Linked DNA regions of Homo sapiens: region 2 is linked to region 1. The links are contacts of gene promoters, found by promoter capture Hi-C in human tissues and cell types (Jung and others, 2019). All regions are on one chromosome and are shown on one strand. Each heading gives the region's core, a stretch centred on a gene start or on the middle of the fragment in contact. The rest is flanking DNA. Distances are from core to core; before and after follow the strand shown.

Region 1 (6,007 bases), core at 2,743-5,242:
AAATGGACACAACAATGTTCTCAGGGGTTATCAGACGAATGGGAGAATCCCACACTTGCTTTAACCAAGACCAGGACTTTTCCTGCTCTGGAAGCAAACAATCAAAGAGGCTGGGCCTCACCCCCAGTAACTCTGCAGAGGAACCTCCTGGAGGGTCCTCTGCCAATCACCCTATTGCCCCCACTTCCTGCAGCTGCCCAGGTGCTGGGAACAGGGCTCAGCAAGTCCAGAAGGCAGCAGGCAGGGGAATTTTAGAGACACCCAAGCTTGAAGGGCAGGTGGGACTTCTAAGACAAAGGGTGAATGTGGGCACAGGAGAGGTAGGGCAGTCCCAAGCCAGGCTGTAGGGGCCTGAGACAATGCTTAGGGCAGCCCTTGGGAGGTGGCAATGGAAGCCACTTGAGACTGAGCAGGGACAAGGATAAGAACGGGGAGAAGCTGCAGGTGCAGCAGCAAGGAGACAGAGACCTGAGTGAGGCATGAGATTCAGTCCGCAGAAGACCTACGAAGCACTTGCTGCGTGTTGGGTGCTGTGCCCAGTCCAACACCCAATTCCACCCACGTGCACCTCTCAGACAAGGACAATGGTGCTCCAGAGCTTGACACTATGACACCAAGGTGGCACACCAAGGCAGTGAGGGTGTCCAGACCTCCTCTCTGAGCCTGAGCTCAGGTGGAGTCAAGACTGTTCTCAGACCTCCCCCATTACCCTCCCCTGACCATGAGGACCACATGGGCACCTAGCCTTAGCCCACCTAGCTACAGTCCCTGCCTGTGCCCTGAAGGCAGGAGCTGCCACCTCAGCACACCTGTCCTCTTAAAGCTACAGCTAAGAACACAGAACAAAGTGTCTCACGGCCACGCAGGACCAGGAACACCAGGTTGCTGACCAAAGCCCATCTAATTCTCTTCCCCACCATTCCAGGGAGAGGAAGGGAAAGGGCACAGTGGGAACGGGGACAGATATGGTCTTAACTGAGTCAGGCTCAAGAAATCACTAGCAGAATGATTAGGCAAAATCAACCAGGGGGCACCCACCTCACTTGTGGTCTCAGCCAGCACCGTGCTATGTTGTCAGCAGGACACAGACACTTCCCCCATCCCATGAGAAAGGCAACAGGACTGGCACTGTCTCCCATTCATCACCACAAGACCCTCCTCAGCTCTGATCAGAAACCCACACACTGGGACCAGCAGGCCAGCGTCCTTCCCTCAACGATCCTATTATCTACAAATGCAGGGCAGAAGTACAAGCAACTCCATTTGGAGCACAATTTATTAGTAACTAAATGCACTTTAGTTCAAGAAATAAAGTTTTCTAAAGAATTAAGGCGGTACACCGCTCTACAGGAGAAAAAAAACCCCACAATTATTGACTCCTTAAATCTTGTGGTTTTTTTTAAATGAAGAGTTAATATTTTCAACTATAATACTGGCCATAATTAAATAGGTTAGCAAGAGCCTGTGTTGGCATGGGTGTGAGGAACACGCATGCTGTTGATGGGGGGTGAACTGGTACAAACTTTCTGGCAACATCTACTGAAACTGAAACGCTGATGCACATTCCTCTAGACTCTGCTAGAGACCGAGCAGAAACATTCTTATCCCACCTTACAAAGGAGAACTAGATTCAGAACAGAGCAGTAATTTGTCCAAGGCCATGTGGCCAGTACATGGAAGCCAGGTGGTGACAAAAAACAAGCAAGCAGACGCCTAAAGAGTACCCACAGAAACAGGTATACCCTCTTCCTGATTCTGCTAGGGACTCACCCTCCAGATACATGCCACGAAAATGCCAAGATTCTTCACTGTGCCAAAACGTTTGTGTCAGAATAGCAAAGACCTGACAAATGAAGGGCACCAAAGCGGGGACAAGTTAAGTCAGCGACAATTCCTTCTCACAGAGGACACTGCCAAACCCAAGCTGTGGACAGAGACAGGGACTGTAGAGGCTGCCCAGGAGCGGCTCACGATGCACTTGGTAGGAGGAAGAGGGCTGCTTCACTGTGTGCAGAGGGAAAAGCGCCCTAACAGATAGTGCTGCCTGCTGGAGAGGGTGAGCCCCGCTACAGGAGACCAGAAACTGGCCGAGTCCACTCCCACTCCATATTCTCAGAGCCCCCTGCCTCCCTATCACACGCCCCACCCTAAGATGGGGACTCTTGCAAGAGCAGCTGCATCTCACCCCTCTTGTAGCTCCAGCGCCACTGGAGCATGCATTGCAGAAGGTGCCAATACCTGCTGACAGACAACAGAATCGAGTCCTGAGGGCGATGGGGGAGGACCCAGCTCCTGCTGGCCCAGGGTCAGCCATTGACTGGTACTAACTGAGCACCTGCTCTGCCCAGACATCCAAGCATCTGCTTGGATTCATTCTCTGCTCTCCACAGACGGGTCTCCTCAGACACGGGGGAGGCAAGGAAGGCTGCAAATGATTTAGGCACCTGTCTGGGCTGACTGGGAGCAGAGGTGCCAGGTGATAAGCCTGGAAACCAAGAGCCAAGGGCTCACCAGGACACACTCAAGTGGGGGAAGGGAGCACACCACCAAGCTATACTCCTGACCGCACACCAGTCCTTTCCAAATACATGACCCTCACAACAATCCTTTCTGGGCACGCAGTACTGCACTCCCATTTTGCAGAGGGGGAAACTAAGACTCACGGAGGGCCTCTACCCAAAGCCACATCACTAGCAAGGGGCACAGCCTGGATCCAAACCCTGGTGTATCCTCCCAGAAAGCAATTCCTGCAAACAACGCTATGGAGTCAGGGAACGGGAGAAGAGAAGCTGGGGAAGGACTGTCCAAGACTCCCGCTGCCCTGCCGCCTGGAGACCCTCGACCAGCCTGGTGGTCTAACCTACTCTCCCCCCAGTGGGAATGACACAGACCACTGAGGTCTCCGTCCAAGAGGAACACAGCAAGCCACAGCGAGGGGAAGGGCCCGAGAAGCGGGGCTGGACAGGAAGTGGGCCAGGGAAGTCATGCTAGCTGGTGGGAGCGCAATCCCGGCCATGAGGACACAGCGCTGGGCCTGGGGCAAGGGTACTGGGGGACCCATGCCAGGGGCAACCTCCACGTGCAACCCCGAGCCCCTACTCACTTAGGCCGCTGTCCACGACCTTTCCCCACCTCGGAGGCACTCATGAAAGAAGCAGAAACGCTCCGAAAGTAGCTGCGCCCAGAGAGGGGAAGTGCTTTCTCTGAAGGTGACAGAGCCGCAGCCACCCAGACCCAGGCCCACCCTCGGCCTCTCCCAGCGGGTCACCAGCATCCGTGGCCTCAGCTCCCGGCTCAGCCACTGCCCTCCCAACCCCACCCCACACTCAGACACACCCGGAACAGCGACCACCGCAAAGCATCAGCCCTTACGAAGCCCCGCCCCGCCGGGGCCGCCCAGGTCCGCACAGAAGCAGGCGGGCAGCTGCAGGAGGCGACAAGGCGCCCGGACCCCTGCATTAGCGGCGTCTGCAACGGCCGCGGCACCGGCCTGCTAGCCAAGGCCGGGCCCACTCCCACATACTGCCCGTGCCCCCTCCGCCCCGGCGGCCCACCCCTGCCGGCCCCCGCTTGGCAAGCTGACCTTGGCCGCCCTGGTGCCAGGGACGACGCCCACAGGCCCCGGCGCCGGGCGGGGGTCGCAGGGCAGGGCGGCTCGGCTCACCTCCTTGAGCTGCTCCATCTCGCTGCGGATAGCCTCATAGTCCACCTCGAGCTCCTCGAACTGCAGCTTGAGCTGGTGCTTCTCCTCGAGCACCGCCAGCCCGTACTCGGCCGCCTGGATCTTCTCACGCGTGGTCTCGGCCAGCTCGTGGGACAGCCGCTTCACCTCGGCGCGCAGCCACTCCGGCTGCGCCTCCATCACCAGCCGCGCGTACTCCTCCTCCTCCGACGGCGCCGACATGGTGGCCGAGGGCTGAGCCGGCTCCCACTGAGGCTCTCGCAGGCCGGGCCCTCCTCAGCCGCCGCCGCTGCCGCCGCCGCCGCCGCCCTGCCCCGACGGCCGCCCGCCCGCCCGCGCCGCCGCACGGCTCCTCCCCTCCGGCGCGCGGGGCCCGCTGGGGGCTGGAGTCCTGCCTGCGCTCCGACCACAAGGTCCATCATGCCCGGCGCCCGCCCGGCCCCCGGCTATGATTGGCCCATGCTCTGTGAGGGGCGGGCCCTCGGGCGCAGCCACTGACGCCAATGTGGCCCAGGGGGCTGTGGGGACAGTAGTCCCGCTAGCGCACCGACTACAAAACCCGTCCAGCCCCGCGCCCACCCGTCCCCGTCCGTGATTGGCCTGCGCCGCCAGCGTCGAGCCGGATGTACCGGCGCCTTGCAGTCCCCTGGACGGCGGTCGAGTGGGCGCGGCCCCGCGGCCTTCCCCACACTCAGAGCCGGGGACACTGCTCGGTCGCCGGGCCTCGCGCTCCCCTGTGCCTCTGGCAGCCGGCGGCCACGCGGGGTGGCAAGACGGCTGCCGGGAGAACCCCCAGGGGGAGGCGGGTGCGGGGCGGCAGGACTGGGCTCCCGACCGTGGGACGAACAACGCGGACAGAGCCCGGGAGGCCACGAGCTAGAAGCGCATCCGAGAGCGCGGGTGAACGGCTGCTGCTGGAAACCCGTGGACGGTGTGACGCATGCTCTGTGCAGACGTCTGGGGGCGGGAGGAGGACGGGCCAGCAGGGGGCGCCCAGGGGCCAGCGGGAACCTCAGCACCGCCCCTCAGTCCTTCAAGGTCTATTTCTTGGGAATAAAGACATTTCCATTAATACAGGGTCATAAACGTGGTAAATATAATTGTTGTCTCCGCATCTATTTTTAGGCCTGACTTAAGTTGTTTGAAAGCCAGTCGTACCCTTCGCCTTGGCGTAGGTAACACTTCTCCGTATATGGTGGTGTGTGAGATAACTCGTTTATTCTTTATCTCATTGACCTAAAGCGCAACACACCCCACAGCCGCTGACCGCCATAGCACCTAATGGCCAGTATCAGTGCAGATGAGTTCACCCTTCCCTCGTATTTTCTTTAGCCAGTCCACAGGCCCCAAGGGAAATCCTAAAGGATGATTTCCATGGACCCTAGCACAGCCATAGTCCCTTCCTTCCCACCGTCTCTCACTGCCCCTCTCCATCTGCTTGTCCGCCTCTCTTAGGCATCCCTAACCTCTCCGGAACCTAAGAATAATAAATTCCTTCTGTTTTGTACCTTTTAATTTTACTTTCTCATTGTATCTCACCTGAACCCCACACCCATTCGGTTCTCCTAGAGAGTGGCTATCTTGGCTTATGGTCACTCTCCCTCAAGACCAAATTAGAAAGAAGCCATGACAGCAGAAATCACAGCACACAGGGTACTGACACTATCTAATGCACAGTCCACACTCTAATTGCACGAGGGCCCAACACCATACTGGAGAGTTTCAGTATTGTTTTTGTGGTCCAGGATCCAGTTGCATTCAGTCGTCAGGTTTCCTGAGTCTCCTTTGATTGACCTTTCTGAGGAGTGCAGTGCACACTGGTATATGCTCATGGGGTGATGAGGTGATGCGTTTCTGGCAGGACTGTCACTGAGGTGTTGCTGAGTTTTCAGAGCACCAGCCGGGAGGTATGTGATGTCGATTTGCATTTCTCTGATTGATGCTGGGTTTTTCTTTGGTAATTAGTGTCATGAGTGAAGACTTTGCAACCATAGATATAGCCTATGACTCCTCAAACCTTGACCCACTGGTTTTGGCATTCATGACTACTTCTTGCCTGAAATAATTATTACCATACTGTCTGCTTTTTTTTTTTTTTTTTTTTTTTTTTTTTTGAGACAGAGTCTCGCTCTGTCCCCAGGCTGGAGGGCAGAGATGCAATTTCGGCTCACTGCAACCTCTGCTTCCCGGGTTCAAGTGATTCTGCCTCAGCCTCCCGAGTAGCTGGGACTACAGGCGCATGCCACCATGCCCAGCTAATTTTTTTTTTTTTTTTTTTTTTTTTAGTAGAGAGTGGGTTTCACCATGTTGGCCAGGATGGTCTCG
Region 2 (5,213 bases), core at 534-3,033, 590 kb before region 1:
AAATAAATAAATAAGAAGGAAATAGCCCTCGTGTGCCCCACTGAGGGGGAGGGGTGGGCCGGAGGTGTGGGTGGAGGGTTTGCAGTTCCATTGCAGCAAGGGCTCCTGTGTCCCTGTGCAGAAATGTCACATGGAGTCCTGTCATGTCACATGAGAGCGCAGCACACAGACACTCACAAAGAGAGGGGAAATACACGGTGCCTGGCTGTCTGCCGCCCCCGGCGCCTCCCCCAGCCGCCCTGGCCAGGCCCTTTGTGCACTGCTCCCACTCCCTGGCCCCATACCCTCCCCACCACTGGGTGCCTAAACTTGGCTCAGGCTGCTCAGTAAAGTACAGAACTCGAGTCCCACTGGAACAGAAGATGAACTCAACTGAATTCAGTGAAGATGTAGAAGAACTTCTAAGAAGTGAGAGTGGAGACAGGCCAAAGTTGCTGCTCTAGGCAGCTCCATGAATTCCAGGACTTCTGAGAAACACCCTCTGGAAAGCATCTTCACTGCCCTCCAGGACTTGACTGGTCAGCAATGGCCAGCCAGAGTCCGTCCCCAGCATAGAGAGGAGGCAGCTGATCCCAGAGGTGCTCCTAGCACGAATGTGGAACCTGAGAAAATCTAGCCCTGCCAAGGCAATGGAGAGCAGGCCAGCAGGGCAGGAGCTCAGGCTCTGTGTGGCCAGGCAAGGAGGAGCTCTGCAACCATGCCACCACCCCTTACTACAAAAAGCCTATGTATGGCACCTCACACAAGTTCATGGAGAAGAAGAACCGTCCCTCAGGGGACCTGCTAAACATATATGAGCTCTTCCAGAAGGTAAATGCCAGCAACAGACCCTCGTCACTTAGGCTCCTGAATGAGCCACAGAAGTGGGACTATGGCAGCACTGGGGTGGCCACCAACAGTGACCCTAACATCTACTTCCTGATCCAGAAGATATTCTACATGTTCAACACCCTCAAGTCTAACAGGTCCCAGCTGCACAGCACAATGGACATACTCTCCCTGAAGGTGAACCCCACTGAGATGGTGGCCAAATTCCAGCTGCCCCCACCACCGCATAGCAGCTCATGGGCCGCAGAGCTCAAGCAGATGGTGGACCAGAGCCTGTCGGGTGGGGTCTTGGCAGGCTGCCCACTGGTGCAGCTCTTCCCCAAGCTCTTCAGCTGCAGTTGACTTCTCCCGAGGCTGCAGTGCCTGTAGCTTTGAGGCCAAGCGTAAGTTGGAGTCACTGCACCTGCAGCTCATCCACAACTACGTGGAGGTCTACTACCCCTCGGTGAAGGACATGGCCGTGTGACAGGCCGAGTGCTTGCCCCAGCTGAATAACTTCTTCAGCCACTTCTGGGCCCAGAGGGAGATGGAGAACAGCCAGCCCGGTGGCCAGGCTGCCAGCTTCTTTGAGGCCGAGCAGTGGACCCCGGCCACTTCCTGGACCACAAAGACGAGGAGGACGGCCTGTCTCTGGACCGGAGCAGCACCATGGCCTCAGACCACGTGGTGGACATGCAGGACCTCACCGAGTTCCTGGATGAAGCCTCTTCGCCCAGCGAATATGCTGTCTTCCTCCTCCACTGGCTCTTCCCTGAGCTCTTTGACCACTGCAAGCTGGGCGAGTACTACAGCTGCTATGGGGATGGCAGCAAGCAGGAGCTGGAGCCGCAGAGGCTGCAGATCATCTGCAACTACACAGAGGTCTACTTCTCCCATATGCAGGAGGAGGAGGCCTGGCTGCAGCAGTGTGCCCAGCGCATCAACGACAAGCTCCAGGGCCTGAGGCTGGATGCGGGCAGTGAAGACGAGCCCCCCACGTGATGACTGCTACAACTCCTCCAGCCTCCCGATGACATCTCAGTAATCAGGGTGGAGGATAGCTCCAAGGGCGAGCAGCGCCGCTCCAAGAAGATCTGGCTGGTACTCATCAACCTGGACAAATTGGAGATCCCCCAGCCCAATTTGGAGGTGCCTGGCACCGACTGCCTGCTCAGCAAGGAGCATCTGCACAGCATCTATGAGAGCAGCCTGTCCATTGGCAACTTCGCCTTGCACCTGCTGGTGCCCCTGTTCCCCAAGCTCTTCACCCATGAGAACCTGCACAAGCAGTACAGCTCCAGCGGTTCCCTGGGCAAGAAGCAGCTGGACCTGTCCTGCATCAAGCTCATTCGCCAGTATGTGTGTCTGCTCTACCTCCATGCCAAAAACGACCGCTTCTGGACCCTGGAGTTCATGGGCAACCTGCGCCGGGACACGAGCAGAGGCGCTCCTACCAGCAGCAGTGCAAGGTCCACGTGCTGGCCCCCAGTGCAGAGACATGAGGAGCTATGCAATCAACCCTGAGAGGTTTGAGGAGGAGTTTGAGGGTCCCCCGCTGCCCCCAAGAGGAGCAGGAAGGACTTTTGCAAGATCCCCTTGGACAAGGTGGTGGTCCCTCGCCCAGCTTCCCGGTGCCCTCTCCCTACCTGCTGTCCGACAAGGAGGTGCGCGAGATCATGCAGCAGAGCCTCTCCGTGGGCAACTTGGCTGCAGGGCTCCTCCACTGCCAAGAACCTCCCGCTGCAGTACAATCATTCCCGGGCTTGCAACAAGAAGCAGCTGGACCCTACGCAGCTGTGGCTCATCTGCAGACTTTTTAGTACACTTTTAGTGTGCTCACTTTTAGTACCTTTTAGTTCCCTTTTTTTGGTTGAAAGTGAGACATGATACACTGGGCAAAAGGAACAGAGGTAAAGAGGTCTTTTGTGTAAGGCTCTTGTGTTTATCTGGCTGGTAGTTAGACTGTCTTCACTGTTTGGTGTTGCTGTAGGTGTCAGAGGCAAAATGTACTCAGGTGTCCTTGTTAGTATCTCCCCGCTTGTCTTTGAGTTTCCCTAGAGACTCCTTCTTAAATAAGTGCTGAGACAGTCAATTCCTTCCATTATAATTCCCTTATTATACAAAAGTCCTACTGATGTGGTGAGGAGGCACTTATGTGGGAGAGGAAATGTTCGATAATCCTGTAATTAGGTTCCAGGCACAGTGCACAGTGAGCCTATGCTCCTAGGCTGTGACCTGCACATGTGCTTCTCAGTAGCCCGTGTCCCTGGTGGGACAGGAAGGCACAGGGAACTGGAGTTTGACACTTCTCTTTCCGCAACTCAGTTAGACTCTGATAAAACCCCAATACATTAGGCTCTGGTAAAAATATTTTCTGTTAAGGATAGGTTTTTGCAAAGTAGAACTAATGTTCTGCTTTTATTTCAAAATGGTTACTTTTCCCATCGTCCTGCCAAAATCAGGAGGGGGTTTTTCTCTGATCTACACCCTGAGAATCTGGTAAGGCTACTGAAGGTAAAACTCCTGAAAGTTGGGGCTCTCCTAAGACTGGACATGGAGTTTTTAACTGTCAAGCTCATCCACATTGAACCCTCAGCACTTTGTCAATTACAGTTTAGGTTTTTCTACCCTGGGATTGGCTCCAATAGCCAGCTTTTACATCTGAGCTTCCCTTCAGATTAACCGTGATTCTCTGTATCTGCCTGTCTCCAGTTTTGAGGGTAGTAATCTGCCCTGTGACCTCAATTCTCTGACAGATCTAAGAAGAGTTGTTGACTTTCAGTTTGTTCAGCTTTTTTTTTTCTTGTTTTGAGAATGGGAGTGATGACTTCCAAGCTTCTTATACTCCAGACTGGAAACTGGAAGTCTTTAATTGATCTTGGTTCATTTCATTTCACTCCCATAGCTTGTCTGGGGATGACTTTGGCAACAAAAGCAGCAGCCCATGCCCGTGCACCATCTGGGAGAACAGGGGGGCCCTGATGATGACTCTAGGGCCCTCCATGCCCTACTCGTCTCTCTCTTCAGGAGTGGATATCTGAGGCTCACTTTGGGGACAGGTCAGAGTAAGCCTCCCTCAGGTGTCTGAGGCTTGGATAAAAGGCATCTTGGGTGCAGTCTGTGGGTGTGGAAAGAACAGTGATTGAGCTCTCTCAAGAGAGATCTCAGTTTGAATTTCTGTTCCACTACATACTACCTATGATATCTTTAAAAAGCCACTCAACCCTGGCCGGGTGTGGTGGCTCACGCCTGTATTCCCAGCACTTTGGGAGGCTGAGGCGGGTGGATCACGAGGTCAGGAGAGTGAGACCATCCTGGCTAACATGGTGAAACCCCGTCTCTACTAAAAATTTAAAAAATTAGCTGGGCATGGTGGCGGGTGCCTGTAGTCCCAGCTACTCGGGAGAATGAGGCGGGAGAATGAGGCAGTAGAACGGTGTGAATCCGGGAGGTGGAGTTTGCGATGAGCGGAGATTGCGCCACTGCACTCCAGCCTGGGCGACAGAGCGAGACTCCATCTAAAAAAAAAAAAAACCTACTCAACCCTAATAGGCTGCAGTTTATCTTTAAAAATAAACTAAACCAGGATAAGGATACTGAGCACTTACATTGGTTTCAAGAAACAGGGAAACTAACTGTGCAGGAACTGAGATTTGTTTGATCTGTCGCGTGGACTAGGTATGTATCCCCACCCTTTGGTTTAGAGGCCTGAGAGCATCCAGGAGGACAGGAAATCACCTAACCCCTGGCATAAGGTGTATAACAGGCAGGCCCTCAGGACACAGCCAGCCTGTGGCTGCCACAAAGGAGAATAGTGGCTCTGGGGACAGTGGAGTGGCTAATACTCTAAACAGAACTGCCCAAGCTCCCCTGACCTTCTGGAGAACATGCGTGGAGCACATGCTGTCTTGGTAACTCACTGACCTCTCAGAGTCCTGAGCAGCCCTGCTCTGAGACCCCATAACTGAGCTTACCACCAGGGGAGGGAACACTTTCTGTGGAGACCGCTGAGCTCTAAGGCTGGACACTAGTAGTGGACATATTACTAGGCATGGCAGTACCTCAGTGGTGGAGCTCTGGTCAGAGGCAGGGACTGCTGGAAATACCCCTACAGGAGTGGATACTGGGAAGACACTTTCTTCAGGCCTCACAATATTATTTTGGGGTGAGAATTCCTGCATGAGTAGTAGAGGGTTTAAGCCAGTGAGGTCCTAGTGTTGACATGCATGTGAGTCTATCTGTGCCCCTTGCCTGTGAGGGTACAGGAAATGTGGCCAATACCAAGACTGGGGACAATGTGCACTGAAACTTTTGGATGGCGCCTTGTCCATACAGACATGTGCTAAATGGGAGCTCTCCCGTTTTCCCGTGGTCTCTGAAGGCTGGGGGTAGGCTGTGCTGAGAGG

What was found. The method cuts DNA at HindIII sites, captures the fragments that hold promoters and counts their contacts. A contact is called where the count stands out against the background at its distance.
Region 2: a contact is called between a fragment that was not itself captured here and the fragment with the promoter of BICD2 in region 1, in 1 of the 25 tissues and cell types used here (lymphoblastoid cells).

The regions. Positions count from the first base shown.
Region 1 is chr9:92,760,841-92,766,847 of GRCh38, forward strand. BICD2 (BICD cargo adaptor 2) reads right to left here and starts at 3,993. Exons shown (of 7, transcript NM_001003800.2): 1 at 3,665-3,993. The coding sequence starts at 3,904. RefSeq lists an enhancer at 1,961-2,120 and silencers at 3,944-4,683, 5,536-5,585. The HindIII fragment of the contact is 19,809 bases long and covers 1-6,007 here.
Region 2 is chr9:92,170,879-92,176,091 of GRCh38, forward strand. It overlaps the pseudogene BEND3P2. Among named protein-coding and RNA genes, the nearest start is that of LINC00475, 32 kb to the left of the region's middle. RefSeq lists a silencer at 2,603-2,702. The HindIII fragment of the contact is 6,217 bases long and covers 1-4,892 here.